3 separate regions of the Homo sapiens genome follow, and regions 1 and 3 are each linked to region 2. Evidence: promoter capture Hi-C in human tissues and cell types (Jung and others, 2019). All regions are on one chromosome and are shown on one strand. The core of a region is centred on a gene start or on the middle of the fragment in contact, and the rest is flanking DNA. Distances in the headings are between cores, read along the strand shown.

Evidence for each region. Contacts are between HindIII fragments. The study calls those that stand out against the background at their distance.
Region 1: a contact is called between the fragment with the promoter of MAPT here and the fragment with the promoter of SPATA32 in region 2, in 1 of the 25 tissues and cell types used here (dorsolateral prefrontal cortex).
Region 3: a fragment that was not itself captured here is called in contact with the fragment with the promoter of SPATA32 in region 2 in 1 of the 25 tissues and cell types used here (dorsolateral prefrontal cortex).

Annotation. Positions count from the first base shown.
Region 1 is chr17:45,893,198-45,896,160 of GRCh38, reverse strand. MAPT (microtubule associated protein tau) reads right to left here and starts at 1,607. Exons shown (of 13, transcript NM_001377265.1): 1 at 1,475-1,607. It overlaps MAPT-AS1 (MAPT antisense RNA 1), which reads left to right and starts at 648. Exons shown (of 2, transcript NR_024559.1): 1 at 648-681. It overlaps MAPT-IT1 (MAPT intronic transcript 1), which reads right to left and starts at 378. Exons shown (of 1, transcript NR_024560.1): 1 at 1-378. RefSeq lists enhancers at 1-778, 779-1,664. The HindIII fragment of the contact is 9,010 bases long and covers 1-2,963 here.
Region 2 is chr17:45,260,813-45,263,520 of GRCh38, reverse strand. It overlaps SPATA32 (spermatogenesis associated 32), which reads left to right and starts at 1,427. Exons shown (of 5, transcript NM_152343.3): 1 at 1,427-1,517. The coding sequence starts at 1,505. It overlaps MAP3K14 (mitogen-activated protein kinase kinase kinase 14), which reads left to right. Exons shown (of 16, transcript NM_003954.5): 16 at 1-402. All of the region lies in intron 2 of MAP3K14-AS1 (MAP3K14 antisense RNA 1), which reads right to left. RefSeq lists enhancers at 386-989, 1,424-1,513, 990-1,595 and silencers at 1,544-1,593, 1,664-1,783. The HindIII fragment of the contact is 11,872 bases long and covers 1-2,708 here.
Region 3 is chr17:45,855,807-45,858,780 of GRCh38, reverse strand. All of the region lies in intron 1 of MAPT-AS1 (MAPT antisense RNA 1), which reads left to right. Among named protein-coding and RNA genes, the nearest start is that of SPPL2C, 12 kb to the right of the region's middle. The HindIII fragment of the contact is 3,849 bases long and covers 1-2,974 here.

The DNA.
Region 1 (2,963 bases), core at 358-2,857, 630 kb before region 2:
GGTCGGGGGGTTGACTCGAGTTCATCGAACCCAGCAAGCCTCGAGATCCAACAATGGGCTCGGAAATGAGGAGCGAAAAAGGAAAGAGAGGCGCATGGGCGTAGGGGGGAGGTTGACTGAACACCCTCAGAATAAAAGCCAGAAACCAGGGCTGGGAGCGCAGATCACGTAACCTCTACAGACAAAGCAAAGAGCCCCCGAAGAAGGTGCTGGGCGAACGCCCCCAGTGCTCACGCCCGCAGCAGCAAAACGCCAAGATTTCAGCGCTGATTGTCCCCCTCCCTTTAATGCCAGGCCCCGCCCTGTCCTATGAAGCCCGGCCACCCGGTTTGGCATGGCACCGTAAAGACGTGACACGCCGAAAAAAGATGGCACCTCGCGTTCCGAGGGGGAAAAAAAGGGGGGCTGGGGGCGGGAGTGGGAGGAGGCACAGCCTATCCTCCCCCTTCCTCGCCCACCAGGGTCCACACCCACTGCCGCAGTGAGGGGCGAGCCCTGCGCGCCAGCCCCGCGCCTCCGGCAGGGAGCGCACACGCCGGGCGCCCTGCGCTCCGAGCGCTGAGAAAGAAATCCGCCCCGAGATGCACCTGCAGCCCCGCGCCCATCCGTGCGTGGCTGCGGCTGTGCGTGCCCGCGAACGGGGACCAGCGGCCGCCGAGTCCGTCCACATCGCCAGGCCAGGTGAACCCTGCCTTTGCGAGCGTGCACAGTGGGATCCGCGCACTGTTCTCAGGCACGGCGCTGCTCGCGTCTCTGTGCCAGGCGTGCGCAGGGGGAAGGGCAACTAAAGTGACAGCGCGTGGACCCCTCCCCATCTCCTCGATTTCTCCCAGCCCCCAAATGTCCCCTACGGGTTTCTGAAGGAGGAAAAGGGGAGGGGGCCGGCCCCCGCCTAAAATCAGGGGCAGTGAAGGCCCTGTCGGAATCACTGCTCGGGAGGTGCAGGGAGGGGCGTGCAGGGAGTCATCTTTTCTAGAACCCGATCCACGTCTTTCTTAGAGCTGATGGCGAACAGCGGCAGGGACAGCGGATTTCAGATTCGGTTTCGGGGGTCGTTATCGGACCCCTCCACACACACACACACACACACACACACACACACACACACACACGCCCATTGCGGCAAAAGGCTGCAGTCGAGAGTGAAGGGCAGCCCCCTCCCCCAAGTCACCGCCGCCGCGCCCCACCCTGCCGGCACAGCCTCCACCTGGGGTCTGCGCGAATCTGGTGGTGAAGACCCTCCAGCACACACACACGCGCGCACTCACGCGTGCGTGCATCCCTTGCTCAGGTCCCTTTCCAGGCCGCCCTGGCCCCAGCCCCCGAGCAGGGGAGGCAGGGAGGGGCCCTGCGGTGGCCCCGACCGATGCCCGGCGCACGAAGCCCCAGTCTGCGGAGAGGGAGGGCGAGGGGCGGCGGCGCAGGGGTGCACAGAGGCGGACGGCGAGGCAGATTTCGGAGCCGCGGCGCTTACCTGATAGTCGACAGAGGCGAGGACGGGAGAGGACAGCGGAGGAGGAGAAGGTGGCTGTGGTGGCGGCGGCAGAAGGTGGGCGGTGGCAGCGGCGCTGCTGTTGGTGCCGGAGCTGGTGGGTGGCGGTGACTGCGAGGGCGCGCGCCGGCGAAGAGGGCGCGTTCCTGAGGCCGGCGGGCGGCGCAGGCGCGAGCAGCGGGAACGCGAGCCTCCCCAGGGGAGGGGGCGGGCAGCGCGGCCTCCGCGGGAGCCTTCTCCTCCGGCCACTAGTGGGCGCGCGCGAGCGCCCTGCCGCTCGGCCGTCCGGCGTCTCCCGGCTCGTTCCTCTCGGCGCTGCCCTTTCGCGGTCCCCCTCCCGCTACGCCTCAGGCCGCGGCGCTGACCGCAGCGCGCACGCGCGTTCCGTGGCGCACGCGCTTTCTCCACCTCCTGTAGTTGGAGTCTTTGTGTCGTTGCGGGGGTGGGTGTCCTCCTTCGGGCCATGCGGGGTCGGGGCAAGGCCAGTGGCTCCGCCGCTGGGTCCGCTGCCCTTTACTTTCAGTCAGCCTGGGGCGGTGTCCTCTCCTACAGAAGTCCTGAGCGGCCTTCCACGTGGCCGGCCCTCGAGTCCGTCCGCCCCGACCCTTCGTAGTCCCGAAACCGCCCCCCTGGCTAAGGTCTCTTTCCCCCAGGCTGCTTCCTTTCTCCTTGCTTTTTTCCCACCTTTTTTGTTACTGACCAAGGTGAATCCTTTCCTTAACAAATCGGCTTAAAGCAAGCTAACTCAGTTACAATACAGTAGAACTGTACTTAAAAAAAAAGAAACGTGAATCTAACCGTTACGTCAGAAAAAAAAATCTTAAATTAGACGAATTTCAAACAGTGCTTAACACATCGCAGAGCATTTGCAGTTATTTGTATCACGTCTTTTGAAACACCTTTATGCTGTAAATAGAGCTTGAAGTCTGAATGTTTAAGGGCCAGCTAGAGATTGTCCCCTGGAAGACGCACCTCAGCCTGAAACTGACCAGTGGTCCTCATTCTGCTGGTCGCCCAGGCCCCAGGCTTCGGCCTTAGCTTGGATTTTTCATTTCCCCAACATCAAGTTTAAGCCCAAGCAGTGGGATGATTTCTATGTAGGGGGGTTTAGGGCAGCCATCTCCTCCTAGGGAGATGGGAAGTTGTCTTGAAGCTCCAATTTGCATAGCTCTTATATTCTTTTTAAAAAATCAACATATGTTATAGATTAATAGAAAAAGCAAGTAAAATGCTTTATTCACACAGTTTCTGGAACTGACCTTTTTCTCCTTTTTTTTTTTAAATGCATATTAACTTTATTTTTAAACAGAGGGGCATATACCCAAAGAAGTAGGAGTGAGAACCACCATGGGGGCTTGCTCAAAGCAATCTGCCCTAGCCTTCTGACTACAGAATGTCTCATGAGCCAATGGCCTGGAGATGGAGCTGCCCCTTGATGGTGTACACCTTAGAAAAGTCAGTGGAATTGACC
Region 2 (2,708 bases), core at 178-2,677:
GGACACAGTCTTGAGCTGTCCACATGCATGTGACTCCTCAAACCTCTTCCAGATTTCTCTAAGAATAGCACCCCCTTCCCCATTGCCCCAGCTTAGCCTCTTCTCCCAGGGGAGCTACTCAGGACTCACGTAGCATTAAATCAGCTGTGAATCGTCAGGGGGTGTCTGCTAGCCTCAACCTCCTGGGGCAGGGGACGCCGAGACTCCGTGGGAGAAGCTCATTCCCACATCTTGCCAAGACAGCCTTTGTCCAGCTGTCCACATTGAGTCAGACTGCTCCCGGGGAGAGAGCCCCGGCCCCCAGCACATAAAGAACTGCAGCCTTGGTACTGCAGAGTCTGGGTTGTAGAGAACTCTTTGTAAGCAATAAAGTTTGGGGTGATGACAAATGTTTCCAGGCCATCGGTGTCCTCTCTCTTGCCTGCCGGCCTGCTGAACCTCACGACCCTAACAGCTGCCTCTCTTTGCCTTCTTGCTGAGATCTTTTCAAGTCCCCCTTGTTTTGGACAAGGACTGTTTCAGCCCTTGAGTGGGGCTGCTTTCCCACCACTCCTCCCAGTGGCTGCTTCTAGTCCCAACGCTGGGCTAGTCATTCAGACCAGTTAGGCAAGATACCTTGCCCGGTGGCATCAGGGAAGTCCCTCGCCAAAATATGCCAGGCTGAGGGGTGGAGGAGGAGGACAACAAAGCCTGCATGCTTTGTGCCACTGCCCAAGTTAGGCAGCCCCCTACCACCAGAAGGGAAATAGGGATGGGTTCTGGGCCCTGACCATCCAGGGATGCCGGATGCACACCACAGGCCCTCCACCCTCCCCTCCTGTCCTTGAGGCCTGGACTCTTAACCCTTTCCGCTGCCTCCTGAGCCCTGCATGGGGCCAGGGATGCCTTTGTGGGCTGAGTTCCTTGGTCATGGAGCTGGGGCACACGGGGTGCTGAGTTCCTTGGTCATGGAGCTGGGGCACACGGGGTGCTGAGTTCCTTGGTCATGGAGCTGGGGCACACGGGGTGCCTTATCGAATCTGGCTCCACACTCCCTGTGTGCACAAGTGTGTGTGCGCGCGGCTTGGGTTGGTTTAGCCGGTTCTTGGAAGGGCCCTGGGACCACGAAAAGGGCGGCAGCCCTGAGCCGCTGGCGTGCAGAGCGGGTGCAAGTCCTGTCCAGCACAGCCAGGCTTACCTGCCGCCTGCCTCTCGCTCTAGGCCCGCTGCGGAAGCGCGAGCCCCACCCCCGAGGTCTTCGGAGAGGAAGGAGTTCTGGCTTCGGGCCCGCAGCCTTCGGAGGACGCCTCACTCGGGCCGTCCCCCGTCCGCCCGCCCGAAACCTAAATGCGGCTCCCTGCCTGTGGGGTCGCGGCGGGGACGTCACAGAGGCGGCGACATCACAGGCACCGGCGCCTCTAATATTTCCAGCGCCCACCAGTCCCTCAGCCAAAGAGCACACTGGAGGCGGAGAGGCAGCATCCACCAGCCCGCTCCCCGCCTCCAGGACAGAGCCTCGGTCTGCATGGGGGTGACAGGTGGGAGCGGCCGAGCGCCCGGGGGCGAGGGTTGGGGCAGGCGGGGAAAGCGAAAGTGAGAGGGGGAGGGGCGCGAAGGGGGCGGTCAGGAATCCGCCCAGGGCCCGTTCCCCTGCTCCCAAACCCCCGGCACCTGAAAGGCAGGTCGACCCGCCGCCAAAGCCCACCCGGTGCCCCTGACTACGGCTCCCAGCCTCAGCCCCTGCGCGGTGCACACCCATGTGCTCTCACGGACACGCATGCGCGCCTTGGAGTAGGGACTGCAGAGTCAGTGGTTCTTGAAGGGGTTCTGAGACCACAGAAGGAGCAATGGCCTTGTGCACAGGAAACGACTCATGAATTATCCTGAACTGCAGATCCAAAAAATCACATCCAGTTGTCCCTCCTTGATGCTTGAGGCTTTGCAGGGAGGAGCGGCAGTCTTCAGCACATTTTTACGGAGCGCTTCGTTGATGCCTTGTACTCTTCTCTGAACCAATGAGCAAAGATGTTTGCCCCCAGTGCCCTGTGTCTCCCCTTCCCATAGGGGCGTCAGATCCCCCACTGAAATGGTGGCTTTCTTTTGGGGATCCTCTCTCCCAGAAGGGCATGGGCCAGCATTAAAAACGGTCAAAAATTAGGTGGGCATGATGGCTCAACGCCTGCAATCCCAACACTTCGGGAGGCAGAGGTGGGAGGATCACATGAGGCCAGGAGTTCAAGATCAGCCTAGGCAACATAGCGAGACTTTGTCCTCTACAGGAAATGTTTAAAATTAGACAGGTGTGGCGGCATGAGCCTGTAGTCCCAGCTACTTGGGAGGCTGAGCTGGGAGGCTCACTGGAGCCCAGGAGTTGCAGTGAGCTATGATGCTGCCACTCCAGCCTGGGCCACAGAGCAAGACCCTGTCAAAAAAAAAAAAAAAAAAACCAGAGGTCGGGTGCAGTGGCTCACGCCTGTAAGGTAAAACGTAGATTAGACAGCCAGGTCTGTCATGGAGAGGATTACACTGATTATTTGAATTGGGCTTTCAGGCATGAGTAGGACTTTGCCAGAAGAAGGCTTTCCAGGTATAAGAAATAGCATTTGCAAAGGCACTGGGTGCAGAAAGGCCTGCGGTACTCTGGGGGTAGCTTCGGCTTAGGGTGAGGGACAGGAAGCTGGATGCCAAGAGATGAAAAATGAAGGTAGAGATCAGACCAAGAGGCCACA
Region 3 (2,974 bases), core at 370-2,869, 600 kb before region 2:
CCAGTGGCCCCTGCCTTCCTCACCCTCCCTCTCCAGCCACAGCTGATTGGACCTGGGGTGGGCACCTGAGTCAGGGACCCATGGGCTCACCCACAGTCAGTGACAGGATGCCAAACAAATAGGGTCCCTAGAGAGTGTGGAAGCCAGGTAGATTCTCTCGAGAGAGTCTGAAATGTGGCTGCATAGACACCGTTGCCTGTTGTTGGTGACCCCTGGGCTGAGAGGCAATGACGTGGAGTTGGGGGCCAGTGGCATGACGAGACAAGGGCAAAATGGGTGAGCAGAGGCAGCCAGCCCAGGGAGGGGAGAAGAGGAAGTGGAGGCCCAGAGATTATGAAGCTCGGCGAGGCAGAAAGCTTTCTAATTCCCAGTTCCCATGAGCCCTGACTGGGCTGTTTGCCCTTCTGTTCTGAGAAATTCCTGTGTCCCTTCAAATATGCTTCTCTTTTGGCTTAAGCTACTTTGAGCAGTTTCTTATTCTTCAAAGCCGAAAGAGTCTTAAAGAGAATGCATCCATGACCCTCTCCCGCCACTCTCACATCTTGTTTATGTTCATCTCCAGGACCTTGGACAGGGCCCAGCACAGGGGCCCTGGAATGTGGACTGTCTCAGTGGATTCTTGTTTATAGGAATTAGAGGAAGGTGGAAGAAGCTCATTCCAGGTGAGCAGAGGCACGGAGCAAGGGTGAGCGTGTGAGAAGAGCCATGTGAACAGGATGTATAGGGGCCAGTGGAGGGAAGGCCAGTCAGGAGGGAAGGCTGGATGCAGATGGCCTTAAACACCAGGCTGAGGAGTTGGGGTTGGTTTGACAAATGGTAGGGAGGTATCAGAAGTCCTGCAGCTGGATGGACATGACAAAGAACAGTTGTGCCCTTTTCTTTAACAAGGATTCAGATGGCCTGGGTGACAGATGACATCTTGGGACTGAAATGAACAAATAATAAACCTATGCATGGAACTCTTACAAGAAAACATCAGGCAAAAGCTTACCAACATCGAATTTGGCAATGATTTCTTAGATATGACACCAAAGGCACAGACAACAGACTTCATAAAAAAGAAAAACTAGACTTCATAAAAGTTAAAAAAATTTTGTTAATCCTAAGACACTATCAACAGAGTAAAAAGGCAACCCACAGTATGGAGGAAAATATTTGCAAATTATATATCTGATAAAGGATTAATATTTAGAATATATAGAGAACTTCTAAAACTCAACAACTAAAAGACAAACAACCTGATTCAAAAAAGGACAAAGGTTTTGAAAATACATTTCTCCATTTAAAAAGACAAATGGCCAATAAGCACATGGAAAAATGAGCATTAGAAAAATGCCAATCAAAACTATAATGAGATATTACCTCATATCTATTAAGAAGACTGCTATTAAAAAAAAAAAACAAAAAAACAATACAAAAAAACCCCAGAAAATTGGCTGGACATGGTGGCTTATGCCTATAATCCCAGCAGTTTTGGAGGCTGAGGGAGATGGATCACCTGAGGTCAGGAGTTTGAGACCAGCCTGGCCAACATGGTGAAACCTTGTCTCTACTAAAAACACAAAAATTAGCCAGGCGTGGTGGTGCACACCTGTAACCACAACTACTTGGGAGGCTGAGGCAGGAGAATGGCTTGGACCCAGGAGGTGGAAGTTGCATGAGCCGAGATCGTGCCACTGTACTCTAACCTGGGCGACAAGAGCGAAACTCTGTCTCAAAACAAACAAACAAACAAACAACAACAACAAAAACCCAAAACCAGAAAATAGGTATTGATGAAGATGTAGAGAAATTGGAACACATGTGCACTATTGGTGGGAATGTAAAATGCTATAGTCTCTATGGAAACAGTATGGCAATCTCTTAAAAAATTAAACAGAGGCTGGGCACCGTGGCTTACACCTGTAATCCCAGCACTTTGAGAGGCTGAGGCAGGAGGATCGATTGAGCTCAGGAGCTCACAACCAGCCTGAGCAACATAGTGAGACCGCATCTCCACTAAAAAAAAAAAAAAAAAAAATTAGCCATGCATAGTGGTGTGCACCTGTAGTTCCAGCTACTTGGGGGACTGAAGTGGGAGGATTGCTTGAGCCCAGGAAGTCAAGGCTACAGTGAGCAGTGATCGTGCCACTGCACTCCAGCCTGGATTACTGAGCAAGACCCTGTCTCAAACAAACAAACAAACAAACACCATAAAGCCAGGGGCTCATGCCTGTAATCCCCGCTACTTGGGAGGTTGAGGGAGGATTGCTTGAGCCCAGGAGTTCGAGACCACCCTGAGCAATGCAGCAAGACCCCATTCCCAATAAATACATACATACATACATACATACATAAATAAATACATACATACATACATAAACAAAAAATTGAACATAGAATTACCATGTGATTCAGAAATTGCACTTCTGGGTATATAACCCAAAGAACTAAAAACAGGGCCTCAGAGATATTGAAAGTAATGGCAAAAACCACAATAAATTTTGCACTATCTAATATTTGCACACCAATGTTTATAGTAACCCAAGTTTCCACCAACAGAGGAATGAATGGCTAGGCAAAATGTGGTGCATACACACAGTGAATGTTACTCATCCTTAAAAAGGAAAGGAATCCTGCAGTATGCTGCCACATGGATGAGCCTTAAGGCCATTATGCTAAATGAAATGAGTCAGTCACAAAAAGACAAATTCTGTGTGATTCCACTTATATGAGGCACTTAGGGTAGTCAAAATCATAGAGACAGGAAGTAGAATGGTGGTTGCCAGAGGCTGGGGAGGAAGGCATGAGAGTTATTGTTTGTGGGTATGGAATTTCGTTTGACAAGATGAAGAGTTCTAGAAATGGATGGTGGTGCTAGTTGCACAACATTGTAAGTGTATTCAATAATATTGCTGAGCTGTACACTTTGATAAATTTTGTTATGTGTATTTTACCACAATTAAAAAAATAAAAACAAAACCAAACCCTTATG